Linked DNA regions of Homo sapiens: regions 2 and 3 are each linked to region 1. The links are contacts of gene promoters, found by promoter capture Hi-C in blood cells and fetal thymus (Javierre and others, 2016). All regions are on one chromosome and are shown on one strand. Each heading gives the region's core, a stretch centred on a gene start or on the middle of the fragment in contact. The rest is flanking DNA. Distances are from core to core; before and after follow the strand shown. Region 1 holds the start of TRPM7 (transient receptor potential cation channel subfamily M member 7). Region 2 overlaps AP4E1 (adaptor related protein complex 4 subunit epsilon 1). Region 3 overlaps AP4E1 (adaptor related protein complex 4 subunit epsilon 1).

Evidence for each region. Contacts are between HindIII fragments. The CHiCAGO score rates a contact against its expected background, and 5 or more counts as called.
Region 2: a contact is called between a fragment that was not itself captured here and the fragment with the promoter of TRPM7 in region 1, in 1 of 17 cell types (M1 macrophages). The highest score is 7.2, in M1 macrophages.
Region 3: a contact is called between a fragment that was not itself captured here and the fragment with the promoter of TRPM7 in region 1, in 1 of 17 cell types (M1 macrophages). The highest score is 5.5, in M1 macrophages.

Annotation. Positions count from the first base shown.
Region 1 is chr15:50,685,446-50,689,130 of GRCh38, reverse strand. It overlaps TRPM7 (transient receptor potential cation channel subfamily M member 7), which reads left to right and starts at 2,334. Exons shown (of 39, transcript NM_017672.6): 1 at 2,334-2,600. The coding sequence starts at 2,598. It overlaps LOC128092252, which reads left to right and starts at 2,414. Exons shown (of 4, transcript NM_001414947.1): 1 at 2,414-2,600. The coding sequence starts at 2,414. It also overlaps the pseudogene RN7SL354P. RefSeq lists enhancers at 1,943-2,122, 2,433-2,852, 2,382-3,246 and a silencer at 2,213-2,382. The HindIII fragment of the contact is 16,005 bases long and covers 1-3,685 here.
Region 2 is chr15:50,946,819-50,950,505 of GRCh38, reverse strand. AP4E1 (adaptor related protein complex 4 subunit epsilon 1) reads right to left here. Exons shown (of 21, transcript NM_007347.5): 11 at 2,347-2,486; 12 at 568-680; 13 at 337-455. Among named protein-coding and RNA genes, the nearest start is that of AP4E1, 40 kb to the right of the region's middle. The HindIII fragment of the contact is 678 bases long and covers 1,971-2,648 here.
Region 3 is chr15:50,974,416-50,978,023 of GRCh38, reverse strand. All of the region lies in intron 15 of AP4E1 (adaptor related protein complex 4 subunit epsilon 1), which reads right to left. Among named protein-coding and RNA genes, the nearest start is that of MIR4713HG, 61 kb to the left of the region's middle. The HindIII fragment of the contact is 961 bases long and covers 1,575-2,535 here.

The sequences.
Region 1 (3,685 bases), core at 1,085-3,584:
ACTACTGATCAGCAGGAATTCTGACCTGCTCAATTTCTGTCCTGGGTTGATTCACCCCTCCTTAGGCAATCTGGTGGTCCCTTGCTCCCAGGAAGTCACTACGTTGATGCTGAACTTAGCACAGCCACCCAATCCGCATAGCACACTACAGCCCAGAACTGGGCTCACATGAGCCTTCTGCCTCAACCTCTGGAGTAGCTGGGAATACAGACATGGGCCACTGTGCCTGACTCAATACATATTTTTTGAATGAATAAATTCATTCTCCAGAATTGATTGCTGATTGAAAGTCAGCATCTGTGAATTTCAAGGCTGGTTGATCACTTGAAAATTAAGGAATTTATTTTGATTAGTTCAATTAAGGATAAATCCTGTTCCCCATTTCTTTTCTTTTTCTTTTTTTTTTTTTTTTTTTGAGACGAAGTCCTGCTCTTGTCCCCCAGGCTGGAGTGAGATGGCGCGATCTCGGCTCACTGCAACCTCTGCCTCCTGGGTTCAAGCGATTCTTCTGCCTCGGCCCCCCGAGTAGCTGTGATTACAGGCGCCTGCCACCATGCCCAGCTAATTTTTGTATTTTTAGTAGAGACGGGGTTTCACCGTGTTGGCCAGGCTGGTCTAGAACTCCTGACCTCAGGTGATCCACCCGCCTCGGCCTCCCAAAGTGCTGGGATTACAAGCATGAGCCACCGCGCCCACCCAATCCTGTTCCCCATTTCTAACTCTAAATTTTCCAATTTACCAAAGAGTTCTGGCAAGTGCCAAGGAGCTCATCTTGTTTCATTTCTACACCATCCAACTAAGGAGCGAAGCATTCGTGAGTACAAAAAGACCAGAGTTACAAAGTTCTAACGAAACAAAGCACTCTAATCTCATTTTATTTTGATTTTCCAGTTTGTCTGCCTCTACCTTCTAGATTATAAACTCCCTACAGGCAGGAAATGTGTAGGCCCAACTGAAATCCAGAAGATAAACATTTATTGACTGCATGCATAAATTAGTCAAGATGCCTTCCCCAAGGCTGACAATTTAGTGTGACACATATATTAAAACATTTTTAAGTCTTGGTTCTGCTGGACCTGCCAGATGGGGAAGAAATACACAATACCTGAAGATTGTTCACAAGCTGGGGGAACCAGTGGGTGGATTAGTTTTTTTTCTGAGAGAAGATCCTACTTCAGTGAATTGTGGGTCATAATGTTTGAGAGGCAATAATTATGCTGAATGAAAGAAGTTAGACGGAAAAAAAAGGTGCGTGCTGTATGATTCCCGTATATAAAACTTTAGCATGTGCAAACTTATCTGTACTGAAAGTAGATCTGTAGTTGATAAGGGACGTGATGGAGAGGGACGAGATGAAGGGATTATGAAGGGGGGGGAGGAAACTTAGAGGTGAATACGTTCATTTGATTATGGTGATTTCATGGGTGCACAGGTATGTCAAAACTTATCAAATTGGACATTTAAATACGTGCAGTTTGTCATGTCAATTATTTTAAAATAAAGTCGTTTTTAAAAAAGAGATAAGACAGTCAGATCCCTGAGGGTCAGATTGAGGAACTCTCGAAGACTTCAGGAGCAGAAAGATGTTAAAGCAGTTTTAAGAAAATTAAACTGATTGTGGTCTTCCCAGTAGATAAGGAATAACATTTAGTAAACCATTGCTAATAGCCAAACCTTGGCATGTGTGACAGCAAAATAAATGGAAAGGTGGATAGGTACATATTACATCAAGGGAACAACCCAGTTTTTGGTGCAGAAGGTGTGGTGTATGCGTGTATGTGGGTGAGTATCTCTGGAGGGAAAAAGACAGTCCCATAGTTAAACAAAGAAGAATATTTACCGGCAGCAACAGGAGAGGCTAGAGAAAGAACATGATTGGGGTAAAAAGATGATTCTGCATTTTGGACGAGGAGAGAGTAACATTTAAAGCCTCTACTCGCTCTGAAGCACACAGAGTGTGTTGCGACACTCGAGTTTGCTGGAGCGAGTCGGCACAGGCCAGGCCTAGTTAGCGGAATGAGCCCACACAGCAACTCCAGACTGGATCCGCAAGCCTTGAACCTTAACCCTCAACCTCCGATTCCCCAAGTTCCACTCTCGTAGCTGAGGCTGAAGTTTGTCTAAGTCCCGCCTAGGTACCCAACGGAGATACGGCGTGAACACCCCACCACTTTCTGGGAACCCAGAGGCGGTCGGCGTGGCGGCGCGAACCTGCCCAGCGCGTGCGCGCGGCGCGCAGGGAGGCGGCCTGGAATCGAGGGAGCGCGCGCCCTTCACGTGACCCGACCCGCGGGCGGCGACGCACGCGCCGCGCCGCGCCGCTCACGTGGTCCGTCCCCAGCCCCGTCGCCGGCGGAGGCGGGCGCGGGCGCGTCCCTGTGGCCAGTCACCCGGAGGAGTTGGTCGCACAATTATGAAAGACTCGGCTTCTGCTGCTAGCGCCGGAGCTGAGTTAGTTCTGAGAAGGTTTCCCTGGGCGTTCCTTGTCCGGCGGCCTCTGCTGCCGCCTCCGGAGACGCTTCCCGATAGATGGCTACAGGCCGCGGAGGAGGAGGAGGTGGAGTTGCTGCCCTTCCGGAGTCCGCCCCGTGAGGAGAATGGTACTGGACCCACGCAGGCCCGGGCGGGGAATGGTTCTGGGGTTGCGGGCGGTAAAGGAGAGACTTGGCAGGCAAGTGTGTGGGGAGCCGCGTTCCATGCGGCGAAGGACCCTCGAATTGCCTTGAGGCTTCCGGATTTGTCCTCTCGGGACGGGTGTGCAGTTCGTTCTGGGGTGAGGGGCGGGAGCAGGTAGCAAGTTAGAGGCGACACCTCTTCGCGGGAATCCCCTGAGCCGAGACTCGGCTCCCAGCGAGGGCCTCTCCAGGCGGCAGAGGCGCGAGCCCGGGACTACCTGGCTGGGCTCAGCTGAGCGGCCTCAGCGCGCCCGACGCAGGGCTCAGCCTACAAGCTCCGCATCTCCTGGGAGCACGGTCCTCCTGGCGCCAGTTGCTGGCAGATAAGGGAACCAAATGCTCTGCTCAAGTTTTACATGGAAAAAAGGGAGGGAGGGCTAGAAGGGTGCAAAAAGGGGGTAGAGGACACGGGTTTGGAGCAGTGCCTTGTTTGCTGTGCAGCGGATACTCTACAGGTACATTTCCTTTTTGGAACCAAAAGGGAGGGATTTGACAATATTGATGGTAGATCTTTTTTCTTTAGCAAGAATTAAGGATTTTGGTGGGTGGGGGGAGGCTTCTGTGGGGACCAAGACAATGTACTGTCAGTCAGGATTTAAGTCGAACTACCGCATCCCTTGCCCCAGAGAACAGTTGATCGTGTTTTAAACCGAAAGGTGCGGAATGGAGAGAGGGAGGCGGTGCATTGCAGCTTCCGATAGAGCTTTTTATTTTTGGATATCAGGAACCAATTTTGAAGATTTCTTAAGAAAGTCATTTACATCAGGGACATGAAGAGCAAAGTAGGTATTTTTGGTCAGTACTTGAATTTGATAGGCTTTATGCAAACAACTCTCCCTCTGCTGGAGTCTGGCAAGTTTGCTTTTCACTGGACGCTAATTCAAGTGCCATACAAAACTAAAATAAGAGTTTTACTTATAACACAAATGTAGTAATACTTTGAATAAATAATGTGTCTTTCACTATTTTCCACCTTATTCTTTTTTGTTTGTTTGTTTTGAGACAGGGTC
Region 2 (3,687 bases), core at 1,060-3,559, 260 kb before region 1:
GATAATTTACTGGTTATAATTTTTTAAAAAAGAAAACTAATATAGTAGAGATAAATGAGTATTCAAATATTCAAACACGGATGCACATAAAAAACACAACAAAAACATTGTAAACACAAAGAGACAAGTAAATACCTATATTTAAAAGACCAAACAAGTGAGATGGCAGAGAGAAAAAACAAAGTAAATAGTTAAGTGATAGATGGTGGCCATTTGAAAAATTGACAGCTGAAGGAGTTAGCTGAGTAAAGCGAATGGTTTCTGAAGAAAATATGTTAACATTTGGTTTGTATTAAAAATGTTATAAAAATTTATGATTTAAGGTACTTTGCTCACCCAACTCATAACTTGAAGAAATCTCTGTGGATAGAACACATTTTCCATATCCAGTAAAGTGAGATAAGACTGAACTGCATAGAGTCTTAATTGCTGATCTTCTGTTTCATCATCAAAACCTACAAAGAAATTGATACACCATTTTAATTTCCACAAACTTATCTTAGGACTCTGTAATAAAAACATTAAACTTTAAAATGTTTACTTTACAGAATATAATAGTGTACCAACCTTCCGCTAGTAGTCTCAGAAAGTTATTGGGAATATCAGGATGCATTACATCTCCTCCTACTGAAAACACAGCATTCATTGTCTGAATAAACCATGCATTATCAGGAGCATATGTGTCCACAGTGTTAAGAACAAGTACACTTCCAAATGCTACTTATTAAAATTACCCTTCTGTAGCAATCTTTTAAAAAATAACCCCAATTCATCCTAGTATGGCAGTTTTACCTTTAACCTCTGCCATAAATTGTTCTGTACCCCAGTTTTATGTAAAATAGGTACTCAGTAGAAGCTTATTTAATAAACTTAATAAACTGAGTTTATGTCACTTTGGCACCATACTTGCACAAAACAGTCATCCAATAAATAAATGTGAAATAACTGAAAGAAACAAACCAGCTAACTAGATGCAAATAATGGAAAATTATATTCTTCAAAGAATTCACTTCAAAGAAGCTAAATATTGTTGTATGTCTACTTGAACAAATTGTTTAGTATCTTTTCTTTTTTTCCTTTTTTTTTTTTTTTTGAGGCAGAATCTTGCTCTGTCGCCAAGCCTGGAGGGCAGTGGTGCGATCTCGGTTCACTGTGACCTCCGCCTCCTGGGTTCAAGCAATTCTCCTGCCTCAGCCTCCCGAGTATCTGGGACTACAGGTGCACACCACCATGCCCGGCTAAATTTTTTTGTGTTTTAGTAGAGACAGGGTTTCACTGTGTTGCCCAGGCTGGTCGTGAACTCCTGAGCTCAGGCAATCCTCCCACCTCTGCCTCCCAAAGTGCTGTGATTACAGGTGTTTAGTCTCTTTTCTAATCTGTTCCTCATCAGTTCTAAAGTTCTATCATTCTGCTGGCCAGAGCTACAGCACTGACTAGGACAAAACTACACTTAAGCAATTTCCAATATAATTTCATTAACAGCATTCACTCACTCTTTTTTATAATTAAACAGTAACTTTTTTTTTTTTTTTTGAGACGGAGTTTCGCTCTTGTTGCCCAGGCTGGAGTGCAATGGTGCAATCTCAGCTCACTGCAACCTCCGCCTCCCAGTTTCAAGCGATTCCTCTGCCTCAGCCTCCCTAGTAGCTGGGATTACAGGCATGCGCCACCATGCCCGGCTAATTTTGTATTTTTAGTAGAGACAGGGTTTCTCCATGTTGGTCAGGCTGGTCTCAAACTCCCGACCTCAGGTGATCCACCCGCCTCAGCCTCCCAAAGTGCTGGGATTACAGGCATGAGCCACTGTGCCCGGCCTAAACAGTAACATTTTTTAATGAATGGAATATGCTTATGACCTGTAAAGTTCTTCTGACTTTTAAGAAACAAACATGAAGAAGAGTAACATGTTAATAGAGTTCCCAACTACTTAACTGTGACAATTTCCAGCTTAAAACAATAAAGGATAAGCTTTAGCATCCTGACCACTCCCACACACCCTCCACTTTCCCCAAAAAGCAAGAACTTTTACTCAGAAAAGAAATCAAGATAGAAGTAGAGACGAGGCAGGACTGAAAGAGGAAAAAGAGGATAAAGGTTCCTCTATCTTCCTGCTCAAAATACTGGACTACATGAATAAAAGAAACCAGCAAAAAAAAAAAAAAAAAAGCCATCTCCTAAGAGGTCTACACAAATCCCTTTTTCTGACAAGAGAGGCTTGAAAATCAGGAATAAAAAGTATTGCTAGGTCTCTGAACTCGACTTGCAAGTGACCATATCTATACCAATCATCTTAAAGTCACTGCATAACTAACTATTTTAAGACTCATGGTCGAAATAAAAGGATATTTCTCAGCCAGCTCTGCTATTTTGCCGACCAAATTGACGATGACATACTCTTCTTTGCTCTGATGTAAATATTCAAGCATTTTCTGGACAATAACTGTTATATTCTGTGCATTAGTAATTCTGTAAAGAAGTTCCAGAGTCTATTTAAAGAAGAAAAATTAAAAACAATATTATAAAACTATGCATAACACCAATGAGTACAGTAACATAAAGGTTGACCATACAGTTGATTCTTCTACTTTTATGGAGATCTACTGGGTAGTCAGTTAACAGGTAAGAAATGCAAATTTCAATGAAAAGCTTAAGAAAGGTAAAACTATCGTCAAAAAATGAATTATGATCAATTCCAATGTCTATAAGCTTCCTACTGAGATAATCACAACCTGACATCTCTACATGACAGAACACTTAGAGACTAAAAAGTTAAAATACAATAGATATATATTTTCTAAAAACATAACAGCCCTTAAATATACATTACCTACAGCTATGGGTGTATATATATGCAAGTGTATGTATGTGTGTATAAATCTAGTCTTGGAAACTATTTCCCATGCTACAGAAGACAGCAGACTATTTCCCAAACAACAGAAGACACCACTTGAGTGGGTTAGGTAATTGAAGGCAATCAGGTTTTGTTTGGATGGACAAAGACTGGTGGCTCAAATGCTTCAAAGCCTAGGTTCAAAATCTCAGTCATCAAGGAAGAACTGTTTTATAGCTACTTTTTTTTTTTTTTTTTTTGAGACAGGGTCTTGCTCTGTCATCCAGGCTGTAGTGCAGTGGTACAATCTCAGCTCAATGCAACCTCCACCTCCTGGGCTCAAGCAATCCTCCCACCTCAGCCTTCCAAATAGGTGGGACTACAGGCACGTGCCACCATGCCCAGCTAATTTTTTGGTATTTTATAGAGATGGAGTTCGACCATGTTGCCCAGGCTGGTCTTGAACTCCTGGGCTCAAGTGATCCTCCCACCTTGGCCTCCCCAAGTGTTGGGATTACAGGCATGAGCCACTGTGCCTGGCCTGTAGCTACTTTCTTTCTTTTCTTTTCTTTTTTTTCTTGAGATGGAGTCTCACTCTGTAGCCCAGGCTAGAGTGCAGTGGCAGGATCTCAGCGTGCCACCAAGCCTGGCTAATTTTTGTATTTTTAGTAGAGATCGGGTTTCACCATGTTGGCCAGGCTGGTCTCGAACTCCTGACCTCAGGTGATCCGCCCACCTCGGCCTCCCAAAGTGCTGGGATTACAGGTGTGAGCCACAGCGCACAGCTGCTACAGCTACTTTCTAAGTGCTGAGGAATATACCTCTTGCTGCTTCAAATAAGATGAAGGAAAACCAAT
Region 3 (3,608 bases), core at 806-3,305, 290 kb before region 1:
GATTAGTACCAGAACAGGCTGGCATGGTGGCTTGTGCCTGTAATCCCAGAATTTTTGGAGGCAGAAGAGGGAGGATCACTTGAGGTCAGGAATTTGAGACCAGCCTGGGCAACAGGTGAAACGTCATCGCTACTAAAAATACAAAAATTAGCTGGATGTGGTGGCATGCACCAGTTGTCCTAGCTACTTAGGAAGTTGAGGCACAAGAATCGCTTGAACCCGAGAAGTGGAGGTTGCAGTGAGCCAAAAGATTGCAACACTGCACTCCAGCCTGGACAACAGAGAGAGACTCTGTCTAAAAAAAAAAAAAAAAAAAACCATAACAGATTGATAATTAAAAGATTCAAGAATTAATTCTTTATGCATAAAATACCTATTTCCCCCTACTCTTTATTTTGTCTTATAGCCAACCCCATTTCTAAGATATATAATTTTATAATTTATTCCACAAGTATTTATTAAATACTTGCTATATCTTGTCTCATAACCAATTTCCTTTTCTATAACAGTCTCCTGAAATTTCAGTTTTGCTTTAAAGGACTTTTGAAGCACACAGATTTGGGAGGAGAGAGGGAGAATCTAGTTTGAGCGTTTAATCCCATTTATAATGTGGTTCTATGGGAAAAAATGTACTTGGCAAAGGACTGCATAAGCTTGGGGAATTCCAGGGCTCTTGTATTTGTGTCAGCTATTTAGCTTATTTTAAGAAACAAAATAGGCAGTGCCAGGAAATAGTCTCCCTATTATATCTCCCCTTCCCTATCCAACCCTTGACTTCAGTAATGGCAACTGGTGGCCCCCAGATACCTGAAAATAAGGAAGTATGACAACGGAATCATACCTCCCACTGTGGAAACCCAGGAGCTTTTCACTCTAGGCCCTGGATGTCATAAGGCATTTATATGCAGTATAACCACAGGTTAGGCAATTATAATTCAAAAGTTTACTTTTTCCCCCAATATATTCTATTAATATATAAAAAGTTAATGAGAGGAAACTGATTACACTTTGAAAGAGAGTTTAAATTTTATAGTACATTAGTTATCACTGTGCTAAATAACATATAAAAAGCCTTAAAAGAAAGGGATTGCACAGAATACATGTACTTTCCAATCCATGAACACAGGATGTATTTCCATTTATTTGTGCCTTGTTTGATTTCTTTCATTAACGTTCAGTGGTTTTCATTAAACACAACTTTCTCACTTGCTTCAGTTTATTATTAGGTATTTTGTTCCTTTTGGTGCTATCATAAATTGGGCTGTCTTCCTAATAACCTTGTCACATGGTTTGTTGTTAGTGTACAAAAATGCAAATAATTTTTGCATGTTGACTTTGCATCCTACAACTTTCCAGAATTCGCTTATTACTTCTAACGGTTTTTTAATGGAGTCTAATTTAGGGTTTTCTATAAATAAAACCATATTATCTGCAAAGAGGAACAATTTTCCTTTCCAATCTGAATACCTCTCTTCTTTTTCTTAACTGCTCTGGCTAATACTTCCAGTACTGTGTTGACTACAAAAGAGACAAGTGGGCATCCTTGCTTTGCTCCTGATCTCAGAGGAAAAGCTTTTGGTTTTTCATCATACCATGCTATGATGTTAGCTCTGGGTTTATCATATATGGTCTTTATTATATTGAGATATTGCCTTCTATTCTTAGTTTTATTGAGTTTCTTTTTAATCATGAAAGGGTATTCAATTTTGTCAAACACTTTTTCTGCTTTTATTGAGAACTGTGTGGTTTTTATCCTTTATTCTGTTAACATGATATCACATTAATTTATTTTCAGATGTTGAACCATCCTTGGATCCCTAGGATAAATCCCACTTGATCATGGTGTATGATCCTTTTATTGAGTTCAGTTTCCTAGTATTTTGCCTATATTCATCAGGGATATTGGCCTGTAGTTTTCTTTTTTTTGTGGTGGCTCTGTCTGGCTTTGCTATCAGGGTAAGGCTGGTCTCATAAAATAAGTTTAGAAATGTTCTCTCCTCTTTAAATTTTTGGAAGAGGTTGAAAAGAACTCTCTCTCTCTTTCTCTCTCTCTCTCTCTCTCTCTCTGTCCCTTTTGTAGAGATGGGGTCAAGCTATATTGTCTAGGCTGGTATCAAACTCCTGGCTTCAAGTGATCCTCCCACCATGGCCTCCCAAATTGCTAGGACTACAGGCATGAGCCACTGTGCCCAGCCCCAATATTAATTCATTAAGTGTTTGGTAGAATTCACCAATGAAGAACCACAAAAGACCATGAATACCCAAATTAATCTTGAGAAAAAAGAGCAAAGCTGAAGGCATCACACTTACTGATTTCAAAATATATTACAAATCTACAATAATCAAAACAGCATAGTACTGGCATAAAGACAGACATAGAGACAGAACAGAGAGCCCAGAAATAAATCCAAGCATGTATAGTCAACTAATATTGAACAAGGACACCAAGAATACACAACAGAGAAAGGACAGTCTTCTCAACAAACAACATTGGGAAAACCAAATATTCACATGCAAAAGAATAAAATGGAAGCTTTATCTTATACCATACATAAAAATCAACTCAAAATGAACTAAGGACTTAACTGTAAGACCCAAAACTGTAAAACTCATAGAAAGAGATGAAGTTTTGCTCTTGTTGCTCAGGCTGGAGTGCAATGGTACAATCTCAGCTCACTGCAACCTCCACCTCCCGGGTTCAAGTGATTCTCCTGCCTCAGCCTCTCAAGTAGCTGGCATTACAAGCATGCACCACCACGCCTGGCTAATTTTGTATTTTCAGTAGAGATGAGGTATCTCCATGTTGGTCTGGCTGGTCTCGAACTCCCGACCTCAGGTGGTCCACCCACCTCAGCCTCCTAAAGTACTGGGATTACAGGTGTGAGCCACCGCGCCCAGCTGGTAAAAGCTGCTTTATGACATTGGTCTTTACAATAATTTCATGGATATGACACCAAAAATACAGGTAATAATAACAAAAATAAACAAGTGGCAATACATCAAATTAAAAAGCTTCTGCATAGCAAAGAAAACACTCAACAGAGTGAAAAGGCAACCTATGGAATAGGAGAAAATATTTGCAAACCACATTTCTGGTAAGGGTTAACCTCCAAAATATGTTAATCCTATGACTCAATAGTTTTTTTTTTTTAACTAATAACCTGATCACAAATAGGCCAATAACTTAAATAAACATTTCTCTAAAGAAGACATACACATGGCCAACAGGTATATGAAAAAATGCTCAAGGTTACTATTAGCAAGAAAATACAAACTGAAACCATAATAAGGCATCACCTTGTACCAGTCAGGATGGTGATTATCAAAGAAAAGAAAACATAACGTGTCAGGAAGGATGTGAAGAAGTCAGAACCCTTACCCATTGTTGATGGGAATGCAAAATGGTGCAACCACTGTGGAAAGCAGTATGGAGGTTCCTCAAAAAAATAAAAATACAGGCAGTACACAGTGGCTCATGCCTATAATCCCAGTGCTTTGCAACGTCAAGGTAGGAGGATCACTTGAGCTCAAGAGTTTGAGACCAGTCTGGGCAACATTAGGGAGACTCTGTCTCTACAAAAAATTAAAAATGAACCAGGCATGATGGC